2 separate regions of the Homo sapiens genome follow, and region 1 is linked to region 2. The links are contacts of gene promoters, found by promoter capture Hi-C in human tissues and cell types (Jung and others, 2019). All regions are on one chromosome and are shown on one strand. Each heading gives the region's core, a stretch centred on a gene start or on the middle of the fragment in contact. The rest is flanking DNA. Distances are from core to core; before and after follow the strand shown.

The links. The method cuts DNA at HindIII sites, captures the fragments that hold promoters and counts their contacts. A contact is called where the count stands out against the background at its distance.
Region 1: a contact is called between a fragment that was not itself captured here and the fragment with the promoter of IFNA5 in region 2, in 1 of the 25 tissues and cell types used here (lymphoblastoid cells).

Annotation. Positions count from the first base shown.
Region 1 is chr9:19,990,356-19,994,202 of GRCh38, forward strand. It overlaps a transcript of SLC24A2 not described here. Among named protein-coding and RNA genes, the nearest start is that of SLC24A2, 200 kb to the left of the region's middle. The HindIII fragment of the contact is 5,775 bases long and covers 1-3,847 here.
Region 2 is chr9:21,303,345-21,307,333 of GRCh38, forward strand. It overlaps IFNA5 (interferon alpha 5), which reads right to left and starts at 1,969. Exons shown (of 1, transcript NM_002169.3): 1 at 982-1,969. The coding sequence starts at 1,912. The coding sequence ends at 1,343. All of the region lies in intron 2 of LOC107987053 (a long non-coding RNA gene), which reads left to right. The HindIII fragment of the contact is 6,884 bases long and covers 1-3,989 here.

The DNA.
Region 1 (3,847 bases), core at 260-2,759, 1.3 Mb before region 2:
AATCCCTGCACTTTGGGAGGCCAAGGTGGGTGGATCACGAGGTCAAGAGTTCGAGACCATCCTGGCCAACATGGTGAAACCCCGTCTCTACTAAAATACAAAAAAATTAGCCGGGCATGGTGGCGGGCACCTGTAGTCCCAGCTACTTGGGAGGATGAGGCAGGGGAATCACTTGAACCTGGGAGGCAGAGGTTGCAGTGAGAAGAGATCACACCACTGCACTCCAGCCTGGCGACAGAGCAAGACTCCACCTAAAAAAACAAAAAAAAAAAAACAAAACAAAAAAAAAAAAGGAAAAGAAAAAGAAAATATCAAATGAAAAATTCCATAAACAATTCATATACCTTAAATTGCATGTCATTCTGAGTAGCATAATGAAATCTTATGCTGGCCCTCTCCATCCATCCTGCCCAGGACATAAGTCATCGCTTTATCCAGTGGATCCACGTTGAATATGCTACCTGCCTATTGTTACCTAGTAGCTGTCTTGGTTATCAAAAAAAAAAAAATAGTATCAATAGGGTTCCGTGCTGTATTAGGGTTCTCTAGAGGGACAGGACTAATAGGATATATATATATATGTATGTATATGTATGTATTATATATACTATATATGTATGTATATGTATGTATTATATATGTGTGTATACATATATACATACACACACACATATATACACACATACATACATACATACATACATACATACATATATGAAAAGGAGTTTATTAAGGAGTATTGACTCACAGGATCACAAGGTGAAGTCCCACAATAGGCCATCTGCAAGCTGAGGAGCAAGGAAGCCAGTCCAAGACCCAAAACCTCAAAAGTAAGGAAGCCGACAGTGCAGCCTTCAGTCTGTGGCTGAAGGCCCAAGAGCCCCTAGCAAGCCACTGGTGTAAGTCCAAGAGTCCAAAAGCTGAAGAACTTGGAGTCTGATGTTCGAGGGCAGGAAGCATCCAGCATGGGAGAAAGACAAAGGCCAGAAGACTCAGCCAGTCTAGTCCTTCCATGTTCTTCTGCCTGCTTTTATCCTAGCTGCTGATTAGATGGTGCCTACCCAGATTGAAGGTGGGTCTGCCTCTCCCAGTCCACTGATTCAAATGTTAATCTCCTTTGGCAACACCTCACAGACACACCCGGGAACAATACTTTGCATCCTTCAATCCAATCAAGTTGACAATATTAACCATCACAAATACTATCCATGGTTTCAGGAATTCTCTGGGTGCCTTGAAACATATCTACCATATATAAGGCAGGACTACTGTATTTGGTTCCAAATGCTATGCTTATAACTACCATCCTATACTGTCCTAAGAATTAGTCTGTGGTAATAATTTTCACTCATTGTATGGGCAATGGGGAGACAGGAGAGGTTTTAAGTGAAAAAGCAATATGATGAGATTTATTTTTCGGAAAATAAGTCAGTGGTTGATTATAGAGGAGAGAAACTGAAAGCAGGGAGAACAGTCTAGACATTCAAAATAGACATGAGCAAGACTTAAACTGAGTCTTGACAGTGGAGATGGAGAGGAGGGCAGAGACCCTAGAGACATTTCCCAGGTAAAAGCAACAGGACTTGGGGACTGGATGGATGAGGGAAAAGGAGAAGTAAAGTAAGTCACCCAAGTTTTTAGACTGCTGAATGAGTGAATGGTATGCTTCAACCATCTATGTTGGGGCAGCATGTCTTATTCTGTCCTCTAGGAAATAGAAATATTAATGTTATCACTTAAAAAGGGGCATGTTATCATACATGATTGGATTAAACAGCATTGTTTAATACAGGACTTGTCAACATCTTTAAAAGCTTTGTGTATTGAGAATCTCCAAGAGAACAACTCTGTATATACCGGGGGGATGTCCAATAGGCTTGGTCATATAGGTCTGAGGCTCAAGAGGAATACCTAGAGGTAGAGGTTTGGGGCTTATTTTCTTCAGCAGCAGATCTTTGATGACAGCATTTCTGTATTTTCCACCATGTCTGTTTGCTTGCTATGTGTTGCTTATTGAAGATATTTTTACAATTCTAAAACTGATGGCTATGCATCATGAGTTGAAAATGCAATGTGGATGAGAACTAAAATATATCTACCTCTGGGTGAAACCAAATCATTTTATATACAAACAATTTACCGTTCCATTCAAATTGGCTAGTCTTTGGAACCACTGAAATAAACTGTTCATTAACTGATTAAAAACATCTGAGATAAGATTTGATTAATTATTTTATGTGCTTCTGCAAGAATCTGGGGAATCTTGGACTTCACTGGAGCATAGGTTCAGATTAAATTCATCTCAGTTGACTGGGTACTTACTCATCTCATAGGAAAAAATCACTCATGCCACTGTTAGTAGCATCACATCAGTCCTCTGCACATTGGCAGAAATATGCTCCCAGCTGCACAAGTATGTGGTTTCTCTGATCATACAGTAAATGTACTTGTGACCTTAAATAACCCACAAGGGTGTGAATGTCAGAGCTGGGAATCCCTTCCTGGGAACCGCAGGACAATCTGTCGACCTATCATTTTTCATCAGTGTGGGGTAGATTAACTCTTGCTATCAAAGTCCTACCAAAACATCTAGTGCCACCATGGCTCAGTCAGTGGTAGCCAACAAACTAATGTCAGCCTTATTTTTTTCATTCTTATTCTACTCAAACCTTAACCCATAGAGAGAAGTGCTCTGTACGCTTTATAGATATTAACCTTCAACCCCATAAGGTAGCATCATAATTGACCCTATTTAGTAAATGAGGGAGATGAGGTACAGAAAGATGAATGCAGTTGCCCAAGATCACAGAGCCTCACATAGCAGAATGATTCTTTCCATCCACAGGGCATCTGAAAATGGATCATATTATAATACTTCCAGCAGAATTTCCCGAGCTTCGTTCACATACTGCATATCCACATGCTAGCTTTAATAGTATTTATTTACTGTATTTAAAAAATCAATACACTTTAAAAACTTTAGCTTTTGTCCAAAGAATAGAATATATAAACTCACAGCATTGATGTGGCAGTTAAATCTTTCCTCTAAACCACAAGAAAATGGGCTCATGGCTATTTTAAATTTTTGTCTTTCCTAAAATTTATTTTATAACCATCTATGGATGCTCACTTTTCCTCTGAGCAGCTTACACCATAAACTAGAAAGTTATTCATTCCGAACATTAAATATGTGCAGTCATTCAACACGGTTAACATTTATAGAGTACCTGCTACTATGTTCAGGGCAGCGTGCCACATTAATTCTTCATTCCACATCTCCTCCTCCGTGAAGCTAAACCTGATAAGCAGAGCCCACACAGAGTTCTACCCCATCTTGGTCTGAGAGTGTGCAGGAGATAATTGAGCATTTCGTGGTCCTGTTCTATTCCCTAACTATGTCTTCTCTCCCAGGAAAATGTTAGTCCCTCGAGAATATTACCATTAAATCTCCCATTACCACTAGTAACAGAGCCTTGAACTTCATGCTAGTGATTGAAAACACAATCATTAATGCCCATGGTGAAAACAGTCAGATCTAAAAACAGGAAGAGAAGGAGAAACACCCAGTTATTGAGACCCCACTATTGCTGAGCATCCTTCCATCATTATCTTACTCGTTTGTAATTAATCTTCACAGCAGCCGTGTGTACTAGGAAACTGAGGTAAAGATAGACCAAGTAGATTGCAGAAGTTCACATAGCTGGCAGGTGGCAGAGCTGGGATTAGAATGGTGATCTGCCTGGCTCCAGGTGAGCTGCTGTTTCCATTGCAACAGGCTGCTGCACCTGCTTCTAGTGGAAAAGAACACATTAAATGGAGTGATGACAATCTCCTTCGTCAGGGAAAG
Region 2 (3,989 bases), core at 719-3,218:
CTTGCCAATAGATTGAATCCACGAACTCTATTTTCAAAAAAGAAAAACTATGTAGATAAAAAATAGTACACATTCTTTTTCAAGTCCAACCTTATTTCCCCCCTCCATTTCCATGGCAAACATGTCACAATTATTTCCTACATATGGTTATCACTGATTTCTCTTCTCTGATTCACTCTTCCACCTACTCCAGTATGGTTTGTACTGATTAATTCTGCCAATCCAGCTCTCACCAAGATCTCCACCGCCATCTATTTTTCTGATGTTCTGGGCAGTTTTAATCCACATTTCCCATAAGTCTATTGATTCTTCTTCTAAGTACATTTATTTTCTAAATACATTTTTATCATCATTCCCTCTTGTCCTTCTAATGTTTAAGGTATTCCACCTCTGTTTCCTTTGTGTCTCTCCTCTTCCCTCTCTTTAATGGTGGAAGGTCCTCAGAATCTAGTTTAAGTCTTATTTTCTTCTCTACATTGGCTCCTCACATGACAGCCTCCATTTTTAGGCATTTGGTTGCCAGTTATGATCCTCCAGACATTGTATTCCTTGGATATTGCAAACTCATGTATCTGACTAGCAATGCACATTCGCAATTACATGTTTAAAAGTCAGTTTAGAGAGGCTAGCTCTGCTTTTATTTTTCTTTCTGGACGTGCCTCTATCTGCGTTCTGCTGAGAGCAATTCACTGTTTTTTTTCCTAGCTCACATTATAGCATTTAACATAACTCATATTAATCATAATTATTGTTGTTAAATTTCTGGCAAAAATCAAAGATACAAGGGAACAGGAATTGTATTTATTATGTTCACTTAAGAAAAATCTTCCTTTACTTAAAATTTGAATAAAATAATGATAGGTAACTGAACTGTACCATCTGTTTTTAATCAAGTTATACAATCAGGCTTGGAGTTTCATTTTAAAGAATAAACAAACAATTAATAGTAAAAATCTAATGAACAAAGCAAAATAATCAGTTGACAAAACATAAAGAACATATTTTATTATATTAGCCACAAAGTAAAGGTGGATGTAATATTACCTGAACAAACATAATTTAAAATAATTTAAATCTTATAAATAAATAAATATTTAAATAGATTAGATAGAAGACAGACAGATAGATAAATAGATAGAATAGATAGATTGGCATGATCATCTGTAAAGATTTTGTCCCTGTGGAGCTAAAGAAGTGTTGCTTAACACGTGTGAAACGTTTGAAAATTTTGATTCAACTCAAGTCATGGATATAGCAGAAATTAATATTTGAAACGGCAGAACTCAAGAAGTGTGAAATGGTGTACTAGTCAATGAGAATCATTTCGATGTTGAACCAGTTTTCATTCCTTCCTCCTTAATCTTTCTTGCAAGTTTGCTGATAAAGAGAAGGATCTCATGATTTCTGCTCTGACAACCTCCCATGCACAAGGGCTGTATTTCTTCTCTGTCAGATAGAGGGTGATTCTTTGAAAGTATTTTCTCACAGTCAGGATAGAGTCCACATTCATCAGAGGAGTGTCTTCCACTCCAACCTCCTGCATCATACAGGCTTCCAGGTCATTCAGCTGCTGGTAAAGTTCAGTGTAGAATTTGTCTAGAAGTGTCTCATCCCAAGTAGCAGATGAGTCCTTTGTGCTGAAGAGATTGAAGGTCTGCTGGATCATCTCATGGAGGACAGAGATGGCTTGAGCCTTCTGGAACTGGTTGCCATCAAACTCCTCCTGAGGAAATCCAAAGTCATGTCTGTCCTTCAGGCAGGAGAAAGGAGAGATTCTTCCCATTTGTGCCATTATCATCAAAGTCCTCCTGTTACTCAGGCTGTGGGTCTGAGGCAGATCACAGCCCAGAGAACAGATTGACTTGCAGTTGAGCACCACCAGGGCCATCAGTAAAACAAAGGGCAAGGCCATTGGGGAGGTTGCAGATGCTTCTGGGCTGTTGAGATTGAGTGACCCTGAACCTTGGGCTCTTCTCTGAAGACCTTGTTTTGTGCACAGATCTTAAAAAGGTCACATACGAGTTTCCATTTTCTGAATGCCTTGTGTTACTTTCTACTTCTCTTTTTGCTTTCTTTTATGCTCTTTCTACATAGATGTACAGGAGTGTTTCTCAGTTTATTTATTTTTACATTATTACCTCATCTTCCTCTGCCACATATGCTTTTTAGAAATTTTTTTTCTAACTAAAAATCCCATTAAATTTTAATAACACAGATATACTATGTGTTGGCTGATGTATATACATTACAGTACCCATTATCGAGAGAGAATATTGTACTTCTTTAATGCTTTAAAAGCAGCGTAATAGAATGTAAAATAGAATTTATTCAGTCCCGGATTAAGAATGAGCAAATGAAAATTCTAAGGTAAAAGTTAATAATTAAATTTACAATTTATGGATATTTAACTTCATAGTTCAATTTGTTTAAGTAACAATGTGATTTATTTACTTATATAAATTGTAGTGTGTCAGATTAAATAAGTAAATTAACAAATTATGAAAATATATAATATTGCCTAGTATAATGAAATATTTAAAAATTCAAAATAGCTAAAGACTATTAAAATTGAAATTATTTGTAACATTTATTTTTAGGGTACTTTCAATTTTGCTTCATAGGGAAATTTAAAAAATTCACTAGCTTCTAGATATTGATCTAGATATTGTCAAAAACCTTTTTCTCTTCAGTGCTTGACATAATTATTGATGTGTTGAACAACTTTAGTAGAATTAAATAGTAAAAGATAAAGTATTTTTATTGAAACCTCAAAACTCAAAACACAGTCATAAATGCTCAGGATCAAATATAAGCAACATACACAAGACAGCAAATGACAGCTCATATGTATACAGAGGCCACCTCACATGATATGACTTTGACATCTAATAAATCTTGGAAAGTCCTCCAATAACAGCCACCCATTTGCCATATGCTTGTAGCACTGATCTTGTATACCTTTTGTGTATCTTCCATGAACTCAAGGTCAATGCTTCTGATGTTACAAGAAAACCAAATTAGGCCAGGCGCGGTGGCTCACATCTGTAATCCCAGCACTTTGGGAGGCTGAGGTGGGTGGATTACAAGGTCAGGAGATCAAGACCCTCCTGGACAACATGGTGAAAGCCCGTCTCTACTAAAAATACAAAAATTAGCTGGGCGTGGTGGCACGTGCCTGTAATCCCAGCTACTCGGGAGGCTGAGGCAGGAGAATTGCTTGAACCAGGGAGTCGGAGGTTGCAGTGAGCCGAGACCACCCCACTGCACTCCAGCCTGGCAACAGAGCGAGACTCCGCCTCAAAAAGCAAGCAAACAAACAAACAACAACAACAAGAACTCAATTAAAAAAATACTAAGGAATAAAGTTTTGTCAGACAGAGTTGAACTTTAGAGGGCCCCAAGAAATAACTTTTACATTCTTGGAAGCAATATTATACTTAATGAGTATATGCAATGGAGAAAAATGTCATCAATTTGATTTTAAAAATATTATTTGTCATGAAAGGTCAGATTTCCAAAGAACCCACAGAGGTTCCAATTCTAGTTGATTCTCCTCAAACTGAAGAAAACCATTTTTGTCCTAAATGTCCATAGTGTAATGTAAATGTGATAGCATGAATGGGTTGTACAATTGTTTACATAGCATGCAGGATACCAGAGATCTTTCTTTCTCATTTTCATTTTCATTGAAAGTAAAGGTTGTCTCTTTTTGAATCCTTAAGAATGGAGACAAAAAGAAAAATGTATATCTAAATGTGATTTTAAAAATCCTACAGAATGGAGATAGAAAGAAAACAAATGTGTATCTAAATGTGATAAAAGAATCCTGATTCTTTTCTGGTCACTTGGGCTAGGAGATTCTAATCCTAAGTTAATTTGTTAGTTTTATTTTCCCCAGCACCATCTCACTCACAAGGCAGTTATCACAGTCAGTAACACCCTTTTCTCTAGAGTGACAATATCCTCTAGAGAGACAATATCTCACTGGG